2 separate regions of the Homo sapiens genome follow, and region 2 is linked to region 1. The links are contacts of gene promoters, found by promoter capture Hi-C in blood cells and fetal thymus (Javierre and others, 2016). All regions are on one chromosome and are shown on one strand. Each heading gives the region's core, a stretch centred on a gene start or on the middle of the fragment in contact. The rest is flanking DNA. Distances are from core to core; before and after follow the strand shown. Region 1 holds the start of COPE (coat protein complex I subunit epsilon). Region 2 holds the start of BST2 (bone marrow stromal cell antigen 2).

The links. Contacts are between HindIII fragments. The CHiCAGO score rates a contact against its expected background, and 5 or more counts as called.
Region 2: the fragment with the promoter of BST2 here is called in contact with the fragment with the promoter of COPE in region 1 in 1 of 17 cell types (total CD4 T cells); the score reaches 5.1 in total CD4 T cells.

The regions. Positions count from the first base shown.
Region 1 is chr19:18,917,031-18,920,703 of GRCh38, forward strand. COPE (coat protein complex I subunit epsilon) reads right to left here and starts at 2,357. Exons shown (of 10, transcript NM_007263.4): 1 at 2,193-2,357. The coding sequence starts at 2,318. DDX49 (DEAD-box helicase 49) reads left to right here and starts at 2,685. Exons shown (of 13, transcript NM_019070.5): 1 at 2,685-2,826; 2 at 3,550-3,673. The coding sequence starts at 2,712. RefSeq lists enhancers at 567-1,457, 2,360-2,959 and a silencer at 2,090-2,279. The HindIII fragment of the contact is 20,861 bases long and covers 1-3,673 here.
Region 2 is chr19:17,403,747-17,407,268 of GRCh38, forward strand. BST2 (bone marrow stromal cell antigen 2) reads right to left here and starts at 1,884. Exons shown (of 5, transcript NM_004335.4): 1 at 1,545-1,884; 2 at 625-691; 3 at 383-443; 4 at 1-78. The coding sequence starts at 1,829. It overlaps BISPR (BST2 interferon stimulated positive regulator), which reads left to right and starts at 1,940. Exons shown (of 4, transcript NR_130766.1): 1 at 1,940-2,025; 2 at 2,331-2,550. It also overlaps a transcript of MVB12A not described here. RefSeq lists enhancers at 1,063-1,801, 1,786-1,845, 1,916-2,295, 2,486-2,545, 2,596-2,645 and 1 more. The HindIII fragment of the contact is 7,369 bases long and covers 1,765-3,522 here.

The DNA.
Region 1 (3,673 bases), core at 1,107-3,606:
CACACTCCTTCCAAAGGCTCTAGGGGAGGATACTTCCCTGCCTCTCCCAGCTTTTGGTGACTGTTACATTCCTCAGTTTGTAGCCACATTACTCCCATCTCTGCTTCCATCATCTCTGTGTCTCAAATCTCCCTCTGCCTTTTTTTTTTTCTTTTTCCAGTGGCGGGTTCTGGTGAAGACAAGAAAGCCTACTAGAAACATTCTTTTTTTCTTTTTTTTTTTTTTTTTTTGAGATAGGGTCTCACTTTTGACATAGTAAGAGCACCAACATCTCAGACAAACACTGCCACTTTAAGTTCCAGCCCCCTTTCTAGCCTCATGAATTTTAAGGAAATTTCTTTTTTCTTTTTTTTTAATAGAGAAGTCTCGCTCTTGTTCCCCAGGCTTGAATGCAATGGCTGGATCTTGGCTCACTGCAACCTCCACCTCCTGGGTTCAAACGATTCTCCTGCCTCTGCCTCCCAAGTAGCTGGGATTAAGGTGCCTGCCACCATGCCCGGCTAATTTTTGTATTTTTTAGTAGAGACGGGGTTTCACCAAGTTGGTCAGGCTGGTCTCGAACTCCTGACCTCAGGTGATCCGCCCGCCTCCCAAAGTGCTGGAATTACAGGTGTGAACCACCGCGCCCGGCCAGGAAATCACTTCTAACTACAAGCAGCCAGAAAGAGGAGACAGTAAAACACAGAAAGACAGCTCGGACAGAGAGAGAGTGGGAAGAAAATTTCTTGGGTAACTGCCAAACTTCACCTTCATACAACGGGCCCCAGTAAAACAGTGGGCCTTAATAAGCACATTCCTTTCCCTTCAGGTGCACTAAAATAGGCAAGCTAAAAGCAGAGTAGGGGGGTATGCCTGCAGCTGCAGAAAGATGTATGGGAGGCTGGGCACGGTGGCTCACACCTGTAATCCCAACACTTTGGTAGGCCAAGGCGGGCAGATCACAAGGTCAAGAGATGGAGACCATCCTGGCCAACATGGTGAAACCCCGTCTCTACTAAAAATACAAAAATTAGCCGGGCCATGGTGGCGCGCGCCTGTAATCCCAGCTACTCGAGAGGCTGAGAAAGGAGAATTGCTTGAACCTGGGGGCGGAGGTTGCAGTGAGCCGAGATCACGCCACTGCACTCCAGCCTGGCAACAGCGCGAGTCTCCATCTCAAAAAAAAAAAAAAAAGAAAAGAAAAGAAAAGAAAAAAGAAAGATGTATGGGAACAGACACACAACTCTCCCTCCCAGATAAGCACAACGAAGAGACACAGAAGCAGTTCAAGCCTCTGATAAACTCTCCGACCCTGAATCCTTAAAAACTCTTAGTCTGTAAAAGAGTGTTACTCTGACCCAACTCCGCCAGAAGGCGCCTCTCAGGTTTGTTTTCTCTAAAATAAACCTGTCTTGACTGGCAAGCCACCTTTCGTGTTTCTTTCCTCTTTAATTCTTACAACTTTGTCACCCAGGCTGGAGTGCAGTGGCGCGATCTCGGTTCACTGCAACCTCGGCCTCCGGGTTGAAGCGATTCTCCTGTCTCAGCCTCCCGGTAGCTGAGATTACAAGTGCCCGCCACCACGCCCGGCTAATTTTTGGTAGACTCATGGTTTCTCCACGTTGCCCAAGCTGGTCTCGAACTCCTGGGCGCATGCGATCTGCCCGCCTCGGCCTCCCAAAGCGCCAGAATTACAGGCGTTTGAGCCACTGCGCTGGGAAACTGTGTTTATCATTCTGAGTCCAGCGGAATACAGTGCCCGTCCAAAAAAGTGCTCAATGAAGAATGAATGAATGAATGGGTAAGCTCTGGGAGAAATAACCAGGCTGGTTGGGCAGGGAAACGTCCTTCTCTGAACTTTAGGGTTCTCATCCGTAAAATGAGGATAAGCAACAGTCTCCATCTCACGGGAACTGAAGGTATGGCTGAACAAAATAGGCTTATTGTCACTACAGTGGCATAAACACCTCCCTTACTCAAAACACTTTCAAGGGCGCAGAGAGAACGCTGTACGAGTGAGCAGTACCGTAAACTGTTACTGCTCTGGGTTCTGTCACGGGACAGTGACTACTCCTCACTGAACTGTGGAAGAGGTGGCCCAAAAAACGCGAGAAGAAAAGAGAAAGTTTTTAGACGCAGAACGCGGCTCGCGGCCACCAGAAAGCGTCCTCCGCCTCCGCCCCCAGCGTCCCCGCGCCCCTGCGCGGCCGCACCTTCACCCGCTGCGCCTCGTTTATGCACTGCTGGTAGCTGCCGATGTAGAAGGCGTTCTTTACGTCGAACAGCTCGTCTACCTCCCCGGAGCCGCCGGAGGCCGGGCCGGGGGCCGGAGGCGCCATTTCGCTGTCTTCTCACCAGCTCCTCTTCCTGAAAGACACGTCAGCCGGAAGCAAGACACGGGCACGCTAGGAAATGTAGTTTACTTTTTCCGAGCGGCGGCGAAGTAAGCCAATGGGAAGCTCCACAATAATATGCAAGGGGGCGGAAGGCGTAAGTGCGTCACGGAGAGCATCTCGGGAATTGTAGTGTGTTTCTGCAAGCCAATGGGATCCGGGGAAACATGATAAGGATGCGGTCGAGGCTGGGAATAGGCTGAGGGAGCTGGAGAGGGTGGGACCACGCAGGAGGCAGATCCAATAAACAGGAAGATTTTTCTCGTGACGTCGTCGGCGCGCGCCGGAAGCGCGGATCACACGGGCCCCTACAAGGGGCCCCTACAAGCGGCCACAAGGATGGCAGGCTTCGCGGAGCTCGGGCTGTCATCGTGGCTCGTGGAACAATGTCGGCAGCTGGGTTTGAAGCAGCCCACGCCCGTGCAGCTCGGCTGCATCCCCGCCATCCTGGAGGGTGAGTATGGCCCAGGGCCTTCCCCAAGAGGCCTCTCCGCTCCTCTCGACTCCTTTCCCTTCTCGCAACCTTTGCTTATTCCGGTCCCACGAGGCGAGGGGCAACCTCGGGCGTTACAGGAGATCCGGGGTTCCGGAGGACGACTGGACAGTGTTGGCATTTAGGTTGCATGACTGACTCGCTTTGTGTTCGTACGCAAGTGATGTAATCTCTGAAATTTTCATAGTCTCAGCACAGGGAGGGTTTGATGGATGACTAGTCCGATAGTATCGCAAAATCCTGCAGACCTGGTACTGCTATCTTTATTTTACAAATAGAAGTTGAGGCTGTCAAAATTGCTGGTAGATCCAGGACTCCTTGGTCCTGTGATTGCTCCTCTAGGAGAAGGTCTTCTCTCTGCTCCTCTAGCCCAACCCAGTTTCGCCATTAAAGAGAGGCCCACAGGAAGCCTAAGATGTGATAAGTCAGGGATTAAATAAACAAATGAAGGGGTCAACAGGGAGCACAAGATGCATATGAGGGAAGGGAATTCTGGATTCCCCAAATTCACGTGCTCCTGGACGGAGTTAGAACGAGGTGGTAGGAAGCTGTGGGCATCTCGGGTCAAATGGATATGGGTTCCAGTCCAGCCTGCCACTCACTGGCAGTGTGTCCTGGGCAAGGTCTCTGAAACCCAGCTGTCCACACATGGAGGGTGTTGATGCTGCTTTGTCCCCAACCCAGGTCGAGACTGCTTGGGCTGTGCTAAGACAGGCAGTGGGAAGACAGCAGCGTTTGTCCTTCCCATCTTGCAGAAGCTGTCTGAGGATCCCTATGGCATCTTCTGCCTCGTCCTGACACCCACCAG
Region 2 (3,522 bases), core at 634-3,133, 1.5 Mb before region 1:
GCAGCGGAGCTGGAGTCCTGGGAGCTGGGGTAGTACTTCTTGTCCGCGATTCTCACGCTTAAGACCTGGTTTTCTCTTCTGCGGTACAGATGGCAAATCAGGCATCTGCTCGTCCTGGCTCCTGCCGCCCTCCCTGTAAGCCCACCGCCCCCGGGAGTTCCCCCCGCACCGCCCCAATCCAAGTCACCGGGGAGGGAATGGACAGCGGCCACCCATGGCTCTGTGACCCTAGGGGCTAAGTTATCCTTTTGTGGGACTCAAACTTTATCCCTTGGGGCAATGGGGATTTTGGGAGCAAAGGAGATCCTGGGTCTTGGGCTAGGGATGTGGGGGTGAGAGGAATGTGGCAGGTGGAGGGTAGCGGGGGAAGGCTATCTCTGACCTCAGTCGCTCCACCTCTGCAGACGCGTCCTGAAGCTTATGGTTTAATGTAGTGATCTCTCCTGGTAGGGTGGGAGGACAGAAACAGGGGGCGGGTCAGCATGTGGCCATGCTGGGGCCCTGCTCCACTCTGGGACAGAACCTCCCCCTTACCCCAACCTCCAGCCCTGGTCTCCCTGCCCCCACCCCCTCTTCCATACCTGACTCACCCCTCCCCGGCCCTCTCCCTTCTCCCTTTCTCACCCTCAAGCTCCTCCACTTTCTTTTGTCCTTGGGCCTTCTCTGCATCCAGGGAAGCCATTAGGGCCATCTAAGAAGAGTTAGAATCTGGGGTTTTGGCCTGGGGAGTTTGGCTGCTGCCCCTGGGACCTGGGCCTCCTCCCTAGGTCCTGGGGACAGAGGGGCTTAAATGCAAACCCCTTTCAGGTTTTCTTCCAACCCTCTCTGCACCATGGTCTCCAACCTTAAAGAACAGCCACAACCACACACTCTCCCAGGGCCACCCATAAGCATGTGGGTCCTCAAAATGGGAGTTTTGAGGCCACCCCACGTGGAAACTTGGAGGCTATCGATAACCAAAGTTTAGTGGACATTTCCAGATTGCCTGAGCAATGGCCCAAGAAAAGTTAGAGGGCCCTACCAAATCCAGAATGCAGTGGGATTTCCCCGCCCAAGTGACATGCCCAGCGAGAGTTTCAAGATCCCCCATATCAGGACCCAGGTGAATATTTCAGTTTCTTAGGGATGAAGTGAAAATTTCAAAAGCCCCCTTTTTCAGGGTCTGGTGAGGTCCCCCTTCAACCCTGAATAGGGATTTCTACTCCCCCAGGACTGGTGCCCACGAGGAGTTTCAAGGCCCCCGACACCAGTGCCCTGGAAAGAATTTATAAATTCACCTAAGTCCCAGGGGGATACTGAGGTCCCCGATTTGGGGGATCTGGAGAGTTTTAACACCCTGCCCCTACACCAGTGCCCTGGACTGGGTTAGGGGCCCACAAACCCTGGTAGGGGAACCTAGGTCCCTTGATGTGGGGGCCCAGGAGCAGTTTCAGGACCTCCCCTGCATCTCCCTGGAGACCCACCCTGGGTCAGATTTCTGGGGAGAGATTCTTGTCCCTCCCACCGCCTAGTACTAGGCCATCCAAAGGAGTTGAGGAGCTTACCACAGTGTGGTTGCAGGTGGCGGCCTGGGCCTCCACATCCTGAAAGCCCTTCTGGGCCTCGGTCAGCTCTTGTTGCAGGAGATGGGTGACATTGCGACACTCCATCACTGCCCGAAGGCCGTCCCGGCAGGCCTCGCTGTTGGCCTTGATGGTGAAGATAATCAAGGGCACCCCCAGAATCACGATGATCAGGAGCACCAGAATTCCTATCCCCAGCAGAAGCTTACAGCGCTTATCCCCGTCTTCCATGGGCACTCTGCAATAGTCATACGAAGTAGATGCCATCCAGATCTCCCCTTTAGAGTCTGGCCTGGAGTTAGGGGAGGGTGCTGGAATCTTCTACGGGCCACCCCTTTATTAGCATAGGAAACGTCCTGACCAATAGCAAGTTCCAGGAAGTGCTCTGACCAGCAGCTCTTGCATGAGGCACCTACAGGCAGAGGATTAATTAGGTTTTCAGTTTCAGTTTCCCAGAAAGGAGGTGGGCTTTTTTTTCACCCTGCTTTAAAAGCCCTTGGGCCCTTCCCAGCTGGGTGCCAGCCAACTGTGGCTGCCTGGGACACTCCATCTTAAGTCCCTGTGCCTCTGCTGTGTGTTACTGAGTGCCTAGGCCGTGCCAGCCTGTATTCATCTGTACTATGACCTGAAGAGGCAGAGGCCATCACTGTTGGTCCGGTCTCCACCTGGGGAAACTGAGGTTGCACAGTTGCGTGGTGGAGTGAGGGCAGGGCCTGGGTCTGGGGGCGGGGCCTGGGTCTGACCCCAGGGACTGGTTTTTGTGTTCAGGTGTCTCTGTGGTGACGAGCAGGGCTTCATCCAGTGCCTCTGTCCCCACCGAGGGGACTATGGGAGACATGGAGGGTGTGTGAGCAACAGGTGAGACTGGAGCCAGCTGAAAACTGGGAGACCGACCCAGCCAACAAACAATGTCGGTCTCTGTCTTGGCACCTGCAGGAAACAAGCTCCTACTTCCAGAAAAAGTGCTCCTGGGACTCCAGGATACCAGGTAAACTCTCTGAGCCTGTTTCTTCATCTGCAAAGGGGAATAACAGGGCCAGCCTCAGACACTGTCCATGTGGCCAAGAGAGCCAGGGCTTCCTACAGGAAATCAGGCCCATTATCGGCACCCAACTGCTGGGCATGACCGCTGAAAGGGGACTGCATGTTTTTCTTGTGGCTTCTTCAGCCACATCCTGACCACAGCCCAGATTCTGTTAGGTCTGCCATTTCCATGTTTTTTTTTCTTTTCAGCAGGGCCAGACAGTAGGCGAGGTCAAGTCCAGAGCCCAGGCCTCCCAGAAGGCCTGGGGAACTCCCCCCAGGCCCTGACTCCAACATCCCTCAGAAGGACCCCATTAAAGCCACTTAGAGCCAGGCATGGTGGTACATGCCTGTGGTCCCAGGCTGAGGCTGGGAGGCTGAGGCAGGAGGATCACTCGAGCCCAGGAGTTTGAGGCTGCAGCGAGCTATGATTGTGCCACGGCACTCAAGCCTGGGTGATAGAGTGGGATCCCATCTCTTAAACCAATAAACAAAAAAATCACTTAGAACCAAGAACCAATTAACAAGCTGTGGGAGATGATCTTGCTGAAAATTCTGAGGGTGAACTTGTCCCAGGAGGAGGGACCTACCAGCCTGGCCAGGACTCCAGGTGCAAAGACACGACCTTTGCCTGACTTATTTGACTAAGCTGACTTATTTGAGCAGCACTGTTCTGGCCTGCTAACTTTAGGGTTAGTTTGGGACCAGGTCGGAAATCACAATTGCATGAATTGCACATTGGAGGCCAGGGTGGTGCACCTCTGGGCAAATGAATTTCCTCTCTTAGCATTGATTTCCCCAGCTGTAAAATGTGGATAATAATAGATTGATGTCCTCTCTAAATTTTGCAGCTGTAAACAGTCCCAGCCCTGCAAACCGAAAGTTTGTTGCTCTTCCCTTTAAAATTACTGTAGGGACCAGCCCCACAGGGTCAGTG